2 separate regions of the Homo sapiens genome follow, and region 1 is linked to region 2. Evidence: promoter capture Hi-C in 16 types of primary human blood cells and fetal thymus (Javierre and others, 2016). All regions are on one chromosome and are shown on one strand. The core of a region is centred on a gene start or on the middle of the fragment in contact, and the rest is flanking DNA. Distances in the headings are between cores, read along the strand shown.

Region 1 (5,268 bases), core at 2,449-4,948, 1.9 Mb after region 2:
AAAGGTCAAGTTAACGAGTAAGTTGGAGGACTTTGAAAATCCAAGTAAAAAATTGTCACTAGCCTGTGACAATAGGGATGAGAGAAATAAAAACTTCGCAGTTGGCCAAAAAGGTTGACAGTGATTCTAATAACTGAATTAAAGTGGTGTGGCCCTTAAAGTTTATCAAATTCCATTTATTCACTCATAATTGCACTATTTTCATGGAAAGTCTTAGTCTCCTAAAACATTGAGAGGATATACCATGGAACTAGATGGCAAACTTGGTTTGGTTGGTTTTTGTAATCTTTACCATTGCTAGAAAGTTAGAAAAGGGTGGCTTCACTTCAGCAGAAATTTTGAAAAATTCGTGGAACCAGAAGAAACCCAATCTAAAAGAAATACAAGAGAACATTTTCGCAGAGTTTTAAGTGCAATTTCAAAGAAAATTCAAACTTAGAATCAAATTCAAAGAGGAGGCAGCACCCCAAAGCAACATTTTTTGTTTTATTGAGGTATAATTTACATACAACAAAGCTCACCATTTTAAGTGTACCACTAGATGAGTTGTTGACAAATGTAGACAGCCATGAAACCACCATGAAACCAGAATCATAGAACATTTCCATCATTTCAGAAAATTCCATTATGCCCTTTTACAGTCAATCTCTTCCATTCACCCCTGACCTCTGTCAACCACTGAGTGTTTTCTGTCACTATAATTGTACATTTCTAGGGCTTTATATAAATGGAATCATATGTAGTCACTGTGTCTGATGTCTTTCGTTTAGCATAATGCTTTTGAGATCTTTTTATGGCTCAGTAATATTCCATTGTGTGGATGTGTACTACATCTTGGTTTTGTCCTTTACCAATTGATGGATGTTTAGGTTGTTACTAGTTTTAGGCTATCACAAATAAAGCTGCTATGAACATTCAAATACAAGTTTTTATTTTAAACATAGGTTTTAAATTCTCTTGGATAATTACCTATGAGTAGGATTACTGAGTTGTATGATACATGAATGCTTAACTTTCTAAGAAACTGATAACCTATTTTCCAAAGAAGCTGTACCCTTTCATACCCCTCCAGCAATGTATGAGAGTTCCAGCTGCTTCACATCCTTGCCAATACTTGGTATTGCCAGTCACTTTAATTGCAGCCATCCTGGTGCGTGTTAGTAGTACATCATTGTGGTTTTAGTGTGCATTTCCCTAATGACTAATAATGTTGAGTCTTTTCATAAGCTTATTTCAAATTCATATGTCTGCTTAGGTGGAATGTCTATTAAAAAGTCTTTTGCCCATTTTTTATATCAAGTTGCCATCTTACTGAGTTGTAATTTTTTCAGTATTCTGCATACAAGTCCTTTTAACAGATATGTTTTGCAAATATTTTTCTTCCAATCTGCAGCTTGCATTTTCATTTCTTTAATGGTTTTCATAAAAGAGAAAACATTTTTAATGTTGATAATTTAATTGGCAATGTTTTTCTTTTATGATTCATGCTTTTAGTGTCCTAAGAAAGTTTGCTTTATCCAAGTACAAAAAGATTTTCTCCTGTGTTTTCTTTAGAAGTTTTGTAATTCTAGCTCTTAAAATTTAGATCTATATTCCACTTCGAGATGATTTTTGTGTATGATATAAGGTAATGATCCAGGATTGTTCTGTTTGTTCTTATGGATATTCAATTGTTCGAGCACCAGTTGTTGGAAAGATTAGCTTACTCGTTGAATTTTCTTGGCCCCTGTTTTTTTTTGTTGTTTTTATTTTGTAGACGGAGTCTCGCTTTGTCGCCCAGCCTGGAGGGCAGTGGCGCGATCTCAGCTCACCGCAACCTCCGCCTCCCGGGTTCAAATGATTCTCCTGCCTCAGCCTCCCGAGTAGCTGGGACTACAGGCGCGTGCTACCACGCCTGGCTAATTTTTTGTATTTTTACTATTTCAAGACCTCTTCTGTTCCATTGATCTACTTGTCTGTCTTTATGTCAATTTCACATTGACTCGATTAGTGTATAGCAAGTCTTAAAACCAAGTAGTTTAAGTTCTTCAGCCTTGTTCTTTTTTAGGATTATTTTGGCTATTCAAATTTCCATATAAATTTTAGAATCAACTTGTCAATTTCTTCAAAAAAATCCTGCTAGTGATTTAGATTAGATTGCATTGAATTTGTAGTTCGATTTGGGAAGAACTGCTATTTTAACAATATTGAGTCTTCCAATCCAAGAATATGAATTTCTCTACATTTCTACATTTCTTTAGATCTTTTTTTCTCAGCAATGTTTTATAGTTCAGTGTGCAAATCTTGCATATTTTTGTTAAACTTGTCCTGTTTTATATCTTCAATGCAATTGTTTTAAGAGATACTGTTTTCTAATTTGTTTCCAATTTTTTATTACTAGCACATCAACTATAGATTTTAAATTGACCTTGTATCCTACAAACTTGCTAAGCTCAATATTAGTTCCAGTAGCTTTTTTCGTTAAGTCCAATGAAGACAGTTTTCAACAAAGATGAATAATCATGTCATCCAAGAATAAACAGGTTTACTTCCTTTTCAATCTGCCTTTTATTTCTTTTCTTATTATATTACCCTAACTAGAACCTGCAGTACTATGTTGAATAGAAGTGGTGGAAGCAGACATCCTTTCCTTGTTCCAAATCTTAAGGAGAAAGCATCAATCATTCACCATAAAGTCAGTTTGTGGCTGTTTCTATCTTCTGAAATAGATTATAGAGAATTGTTGTAATTTCTTCCTTAAATGTTTGGTGTAAAATTCACCAGTGAAACCATGGACCTGGTGCTTTTTGTTTTTGGAAGGCTATTATTTATTCAAGTTATTTAATAGATATAGGCCTATTCAGATTGTCCATTTCTTCTCGTGTGAGTTTTGGCAGATTGTGTCTTTCAAGGAATTGGTTTATTTCATCCAGGTTATCAAATTTGTGGACATAGAATTCATAGTATTCCTTTATTATCATTTTAATGTCCGTCGGATCTGTAGTAATGTTCCTTATTTCACTTTTGATATTAGTTATTTGCGTTCTCTTTTCTTGCCTGGTTAGAGGCTTATTGATTTTATCAATGTTTTCAAAGAACCAGCTTTTGTTTTCATTGATTTTTCTTTGTTGCTTTCCTGTTTTCAATTTCACAGGTTTCTGCTTTAATTTTTATTATTTCTTCTCTTCTGCTTACTTTGGATTTTCTTTTTATTTCTTTTTATTTATTTATTTTTGAGACACAGTCTCACTCTGTCGCCCAGGCTGGAGTGCAGTGGTGCGATCTCGGCTCACTGCAACCTCCGCCTCCTGGGTTGAAGCGATTCTCCTGCCTCAGCCTCCCGAGTAGCTGGGACTGCAGGCGCCCGCCACCACGCCCGGCTAATTTTTTGTATTTTTAGTAGAGACGGGGTTTCACCGTGTTAGCCAGGATGGTCTCGATCTCCTGACTCGCCATCTGCCCGCCTTGGCCTCCCAAACTGCTGGGATTACAGGCGTGAGCCGCCCAGCATCTTTTTTTTTTTTTTTTTTTTTTTGAGTCGGAGTCTTGCTCTGTCGCCCGGGCTGCAGTGCAGTGGCGCGATCTCAGTTCACTGCAAGCTCCACCTCCCGGGTTCAGGCAGTTCTGCCTCAGCCTCCCGAGTAGCCGGGACTACGGGCGCGCACCACCACGCCCTGCTAATTTTTGTTTTTAGTAGAGGCGGGATTTCGCCGTATTGGCCAGGCTGATTTCAAACGCCTGACCTCAGGTGATCCGCCCGCCTCGGCCTCCCGAAGTGCTGGGATTACAGGCTGAGGCACGGTACGGGGACCTCATCTGCATCAGTACGGGTGTAATCAATGATGACCTGCCTCTTAATTTATCAGGTGGCAAACTGAGGCTGTGGGCACTGAAAGAGACCTAGCATTTTCTAGGGCACCGCTCTCCTGGGTACGCTGGCGACAACCAGCGGCCTCGGCTTGGGAGCTGAGCCACTGGCCGGAATCTGCCGCTGAGCGAATGCACTCGCTCAGACCCGACTTCTCCCTCTAGGGCGCGGCTCCCGGGCAGGTCCCTTCACGAGTCTTCCATCCGAGCAGAGCAGGGTCCCGCGGAGGCGCCGACCGGGCGCGAGGCCTCCTGCCTGCCCAGGTTCCCCGGCGACCCTGAGCGAACCCTCTCGGGGTCAGCTCCGTCTAGGCTGAGAAGGGAACGGCGGAAGGCGGAGTGCGCCCCCGGGAGCCCGGAGCTGGGACTGCAGCTCCCATGGGGCCAAGTTCACGGGGTGCGGCCGCGCGGCCAATGAGCGCCCTCTATGCCCTGACGGTGCCCCGCCTCGCGGCGCTGCCGCGCTCCCGCCCTCCCGCCCTCCCGCCGCGCGCTCGGGATCCCGACCAGTCCTGACCGCACGGGGGCCGCGGCCACGGGGCGCAGGGGCCATGGTGCGCGGCAGGATCTCCCGGCTCTCGGTCCGGGACGTGCGCTTCCCCACGTCGCTTGGGGGCCACGGCGCGGACGCCATGGTAAGCGCGGACGCCATGGTAAGCGCGGACGCCATGGTAAGCGCGGACGCCATGGTAAGCGCGGACGCCATGGTAAGCGCGGACGCCATGGTAAGCGCGGACGCCATGGTAAGCGCGGACGCCATGGTAAGCGCGGACGCCATGGTACGCGCGGCTTGCGGCCCGGGTCCCTCCCGCCCCGCCGACTGCAGCTCTGCGGGCCCCGGGCAGCTTCCCGACTTCGAACCCATTGCTTCTGTAAAGTGGGAGGCGCGCCTGGGGGAGACACTCGCTTTTCATGCCTTGGAGCAATTGTATAAGTATCCAGAAACTTTCCACTCTCCTGGGTTTTTTCTTTGCTGGAGTTTAGAATATCCTGGTTTTACTTTTACGACTCACATTTTGCTGGAAATGGTAGAATGCATAATAGGCAATAGCAGCAAAATGATTTTGTTGGGTTCCCGCCAGTGGAAACCCTAGAGCACAGCGCTCGCTGGCTTCCTCTGTACCCTGAACGCGACGGGGTTGGCGCTGAGGGAGAACGGGAAGCCCGGGGCTGGGAGTTTTGAGTGGTGATCCCGCTTCCACAACTTGCTGTGTGACTTGGAGAAGTTCCAGACCTCTCTGGGTCTCTTGGACCCGTCTGTGTAATGAAGGTGTCACAGTCGGGTTGAGAAACCAAGCGCGTGCTAACTGCGTCACATGAGAGGGCGCTCTCGTGAAATTACCCGCAAACACGCTTAGAAAGGACTGATGCAAATGTCAGTTCGTCTTAAGAGATGTAATAAAGTAAGGGCAGGAACTCTGA
Region 2 (4,917 bases), core at 1,664-4,163:
AACAACAAAAAAGTTAGCCTTCTCAGCCTTCTTTTTTCTTACTAGTTGGTCCCTCTCATTTCTAACTAAATTTAAAACGTTTTCTAGCAGGATAAAGTGGGAGGAAGGAGGAACAGAATTAGTTAAAAGAAATATTTTCCTTGGTTTTCCAGTTGAAATATTGAAGGAAGGAATAAATACATCTGTTCCCTACAGCAAAGAATGCCATTTGAGTAGTATAACAGAATGAACAGAGGTTCTGGGTTTGAATACTAACTTGAGCTTTACTATCTGAGTAATGAGTCACCATTTCCACGACTGTGTTTATACTTCTGTAATAAAAGGCCAATAATACTTCCTCTATTTATCTAAGAGTTACTGAGACATCTCACGAGAGGGAAATAGTGCATTTCTAGAGGAAGGGTAAAGTAGCAAAACATTTTCAAAAAGCAATTTTAAAATACGAAACAAGAGCTTTAAAGATGTATCTCATCTTTGATCCAGTTCTAAGATTTCAAACTAAGCAAACAATAATAAAAGACATAAACGGCTATGTATTCAAAGATGTTTTTCCACTGGGTGCAGTGGCTCACGCCAGTAATCCCAGCACTTTGGGAGGCGGGTGGATCTCTTGAGCCCAGGAGCTCGAGACTAGCCTGGGCAACACAGCCAAACCCCCGTATGTACGAAAAATACGAAAAAAAAAAAACATAGCTGGGCATGGTGGCGCTCACCTGTAGTCCTGGCTACTTGGGAGGCTGAGGTGGGAGGATCACCTGAGCCCGGGAATATTTGGGCCTGGGAAAATGTTTATTACAGCATTACTTAAAATCAAAAAAATTAAAAGTAATGTAAATGTCAACAGAAAGGAGAGATTCGGTTATGTAAATAGTGGTAGCAAATGGACCATTTCAAATTTTGATTTGAAGACCTACGTTTAAAGAAACTTCTGACACTATTAAGTGAAAAAATTAATAGAATATAAAACACATATTTTAGTAATTTAAAAAATGGAGTGGGAAGGAGGAGGAAGGCTGAAAAGACATAACCTCAGGTGCTAAGAGTAGTCATATAGTAGTTTTACAGCGAGTAAAAGATTTACTTGTTTCCCCCCTCTGGTTCCATATTTTCTTTAATGTACTGATATTTTTACTATAAACACAATAAACGTAAAAAGTTTCCCTTTTGTAGAATGGTTCTGAATAGAAAGCATTCAACAAAAAAGATGAGCATTCATTCACTTTTCAAACACAACGGGAATCTACTACGTTCAGGCACAGAATTAACTTGAGGGGATAGGTTTTTGTCTTCATTCATTTATCCATTCTAATCTGGGCATTTACAATGTCGCAGGCACAGTTCTAGACGCTGGGACTACAGCTGTGAACAAAAGAAAGTCCTTACTTCTCCAATCGTTTTCATTCTACGGATCACGATTTCAATTATTTCAGCAACCATACAGTTATATGGTCTAGAACATTTCTAAACCTATCAGCCTCACGACAAAACACGGCTTCAAAGTTCTTTTTTTCCCTTGGACGCTAAGTGTTCTTAACAGCTTAAAAAGGGACCTCATATGGTTAATTCAGAGCATGACAATATTCCTTCTTCAAAGCTCAGGCAATGCCACCACCTCATATCTATAAAGTACATCACAGTTTAAAGCGGATTTCCCTCCACGTTCATTTTCAAAGCGAACCAATACACGGGGTAGGTACGTTTTCTGGTGCTCCACAGCCACCCATACCAACCTTTGACTTGGTTTGGAAATTCCCAAGGGTTAGGGCTCAGACAGGCAGAAGGCCAGCTCTACCTGCAGAGCTGACCTGGACAAGTGTCTCCGTGCGGAAGGATCCCCCCCGCCGCCCCGCCCCAGAAGGACCTGCAACCTCGACAGGGCAACCCGGGGACACCCCGCATCATCTAATGAACTTGGGGGAGATGACTCCGGGCATTTCACAACTTCCCACCGTCGCAACACTCACAACAGAGCCCCTGGGCGTTAACTCCCTTCTCTCGTTTTAAAAAAGTTACAAAGTAAAAACAGACACCACCAACGGCTTTCCCTAGACTGCAGGGCCGCAACCGGGCTAAGCTCGCCCAGGGCCAACAAACGCTGAGCTCTCCACCCGGGCCGGCAAGGCCTCCCGTAAAAGGAGCGGAGGCAGAGGGAGGGCCACGGGGGAGCCGGCCCTGCACTTCGAGGCCCGGGCCAGGGCCCGCCCGAGGCGTCCGGCCACCAGGTCACGGACATGGCGGGCACACGGGAGAGGGAAGCCAAGGCCGCAGGACCGGGACCGGGTGACAGGTTTATTGCCCTCAGTGAGCAAGTTGAGTTTCTCATCACCCTCCCGCCCCCAAGTCTACACGCGCATCCCTTCCTCGCCCCTTCGCGTACCTGACACACACACGCGCGAAATCCCGCGTAGTCCGAGCGCTCCCCGACCTGCAGAGGCCGGTCCCCGAGCTCGGACTCCTTTTCGCGCCGATCAAACAAGTACACCGTCCTGTGGCCGACGCCTCCGCCATCCTCCTCAGTCCCCACAGAGGCCCCACCAGGCCCGCCGCCGTCCGCCGCTGCCATATTGGGGAAAAGGAGAAAAGACAGCGACGCCTGCCGCCGCCGGGCTCAGGGCTGAGGTGCGCGCTCCGCGCGGCGCCTTCAGCTCCAGCTCCCGGGGCGGCTCGAGGCCTCGGCCCGGCGCGCTGCAGCTCCTCGTCAGCGGCGGCGGCCGAGCAGCGGCAGGCGCGAGGATCACCCGGGAACCGATTCAAACGCGCTCCTGCCCGTGCACCACGTCACTTCCGCGGCCCGCCACTCCTGAGGAGAAGGGGACGCGCGGCGCGCTCCTCACCGGGCCCGGGCCCAGCGCCTATCGCCGCCCACGCGAGCCTCACGGTGCGACCCGCGACCAGCGCCGCCGCCGGGACTGTGGCGCAGGAGGAAGAGCGGTGGCGGGTGGCGGGCGGCGGGCGACAGCGAGGGGCGGGGCGAATCCAGCAGGCCGCGCGGGCAGGGGCGGGGCTTCGCCGCGCGCGCGCCCGGGGCCCGCCCCCTCGGCCCTCGCGAAGTTGGAAGGAGGCTGAGTCTTTCGCGGCTGCCTGCGCCCTGCGGGTAGTCCTCAGAGGCCGAGGCGGGAGAGCAGGGCTCGGGGGCAGCGGGGGAATCTCCCGAAGAGCTGTGTTCTCTCTGTGGAAAGGGCCCCGCTGCCTTCCCGCCTCTCCAGGATCCCGACTGAGCTTGTAGGTGCCGCGCCGGCTGACTGAGCCCTCTCTGGCTGGGTCGCGTGGACGCGGCGGCGGGAAGCTTCAGGCCGGCGGTACTCGCCGGGCGCAGAGTCCACCAAAGCGAGCACGTGGGTCCCTCTGCCGAGAAAATAGGCGCTACGAGAGCCGGCGCCCCTTTTTCCTCCTCATTTCTTAGTAGTACTGGGTGGGCTCCAGCGTGGGCCCCCGAGGCAAAGCGGGTCCGTGAGAACGTCAGAAGGGCGCTCTGTGACGTCACAGCGTCCCCGCCCCCCGCACCCTCTGGGGGCCCTGGAGCGCCGACGGCATTCGGGGTACGGGGGTGACTCCAGCGCCCTAGTTTTAACGCTGCCTGCGCTTCGCGGTCTCCCACGTGCGTGTAAATTCTGAAAGAACCCACGCCACAGTTACTAGGGTTAAATTAGATGTTCGCAAAATTCTTAAGGCCTAATACGTTTTCAATCAAAGCCTTTAATCGTCGTTACCGGGCAGCGTTTCATTAACTATCCTCATCGTGGGCAGGTAGTGCCCTAACTCAACAAATAAAATGCCATTGTTAGAGGACTAGGTTTACTCTCCAGTTCTTAGAAATCGTGAATACTGTATACTTGAGAGTGGTATGTAAATTCAGAAACCCAAAGGTAGCAGATAGAGGGGTTTTTCAAATCTCAGAATATAAGCCTGGATAATAGTGCGTTTTCTGTTTTACTAGGTTTGCTAAAACCTTATATGGACAGACTTACAAAGTTAGTGTTATGTTAGAAACCTAGATTTGCTTGTGGATGTCAAGACGTTTCAAGATCGTGGGGAATGTGTGTATAAATTGACTACACATATACTAGAGGTAGACACCAACTAGAACGAAATTGTGAAGGCGTGTTTGGGGAACATACATTGTTTGGCTGGAAGTGAGGAGAACTGAGCGGTAGATGGTGGAAGATAAAATTGGAAAGACATAAACTGTGGCCAAATGCCGTTCATGTTCCTTAAGGTGGAGGTGGAGGAAAAGAAAACAAAAAAGTAACCCCCGATTCTAATGGAATTTCTTTGAAGTCTGATGTTTTATTTACCTTTCAAATTCATGCGAATGTCTCATTCTATTCCTTTATATAGTGGTATTTGAGTTAAATGACTCAAAGAAAAACACAAATTGTTTTTCTAATTCTTAGTTAATGGGTAAGATGAATTGCCTCTCTACTTCAGCAAATTGAGATTAGAGCTGGAGATTCGTCATCAGGGCAATTTCTCATTTCTTTGTAATACCAGATTATACAAGCACACCTCTTTCATGTCTTTAGAAGAGATTTCAGGATCATCTCTAAGAGATTTTTTTTTTAATGGTGCCAGAGAAGTGTACTGCAGTATTATGGGCAGCTCTTGATGGGAACATTGATGTCTTACCTTGTTGAGAGATCGAGTCTGAATCAGTTTCTTAATGGCAGTATGGCATCACTTTTGTTCTCAGAATATCAAACAATTTTTTCATCAAAGAAAGATGACGAGTTTGTTCTTTATTTAATTGTCATCACAAGTAAATAAAAGCGTTTGAAATGACCCACTTCCTTAATGAGTTCTCTTCAATTGACTCTTAGTTTTTGTTAATTAGCTATCTTACTACAGAGTAAAATATTTAAGTGGCCTTGTATCAGTTATTTATTGCTACATAACGAACTTCCCCAAAACTTAGTGGCC

The links. The method cuts DNA at HindIII sites, captures the fragments that hold promoters and counts their contacts. A CHiCAGO score of 5 or more calls a contact.
Region 1: a fragment that was not itself captured here is called in contact with the fragment with the promoter of SMCHD1 in region 2 in 2 of 17 cell types (naive CD8 T cells and M0 macrophages); the score reaches 7.8 in naive CD8 T cells.

The regions. Positions count from the first base shown.
Region 1 is chr18:711,717-716,984 of GRCh38, reverse strand. It overlaps ENOSF1 (enolase superfamily member 1), which reads left to right and starts at 4,355. Exons shown (of 16, transcript NM_017512.7): 1 at 4,355-4,481. The coding sequence starts at 4,398. RefSeq lists silencers at 1,062-1,356, 4,111-4,430 and an enhancer at 3,580-4,159. The HindIII fragment of the contact is 4,938 bases long and covers 1,230-5,268 here.
Region 2 is chr18:2,653,722-2,658,638 of GRCh38, reverse strand. SMCHD1 (structural maintenance of chromosomes flexible hinge domain containing 1) reads right to left here and starts at 2,913. Exons shown (of 48, transcript NM_015295.3): 1 at 2,378-2,913. The coding sequence starts at 2,563. It also overlaps the pseudogene CBX3P2. RefSeq lists silencers at 2,211-2,390, 2,621-3,070 and an enhancer at 4,105-4,734. The HindIII fragment of the contact is 3,448 bases long and covers 1-3,288 here.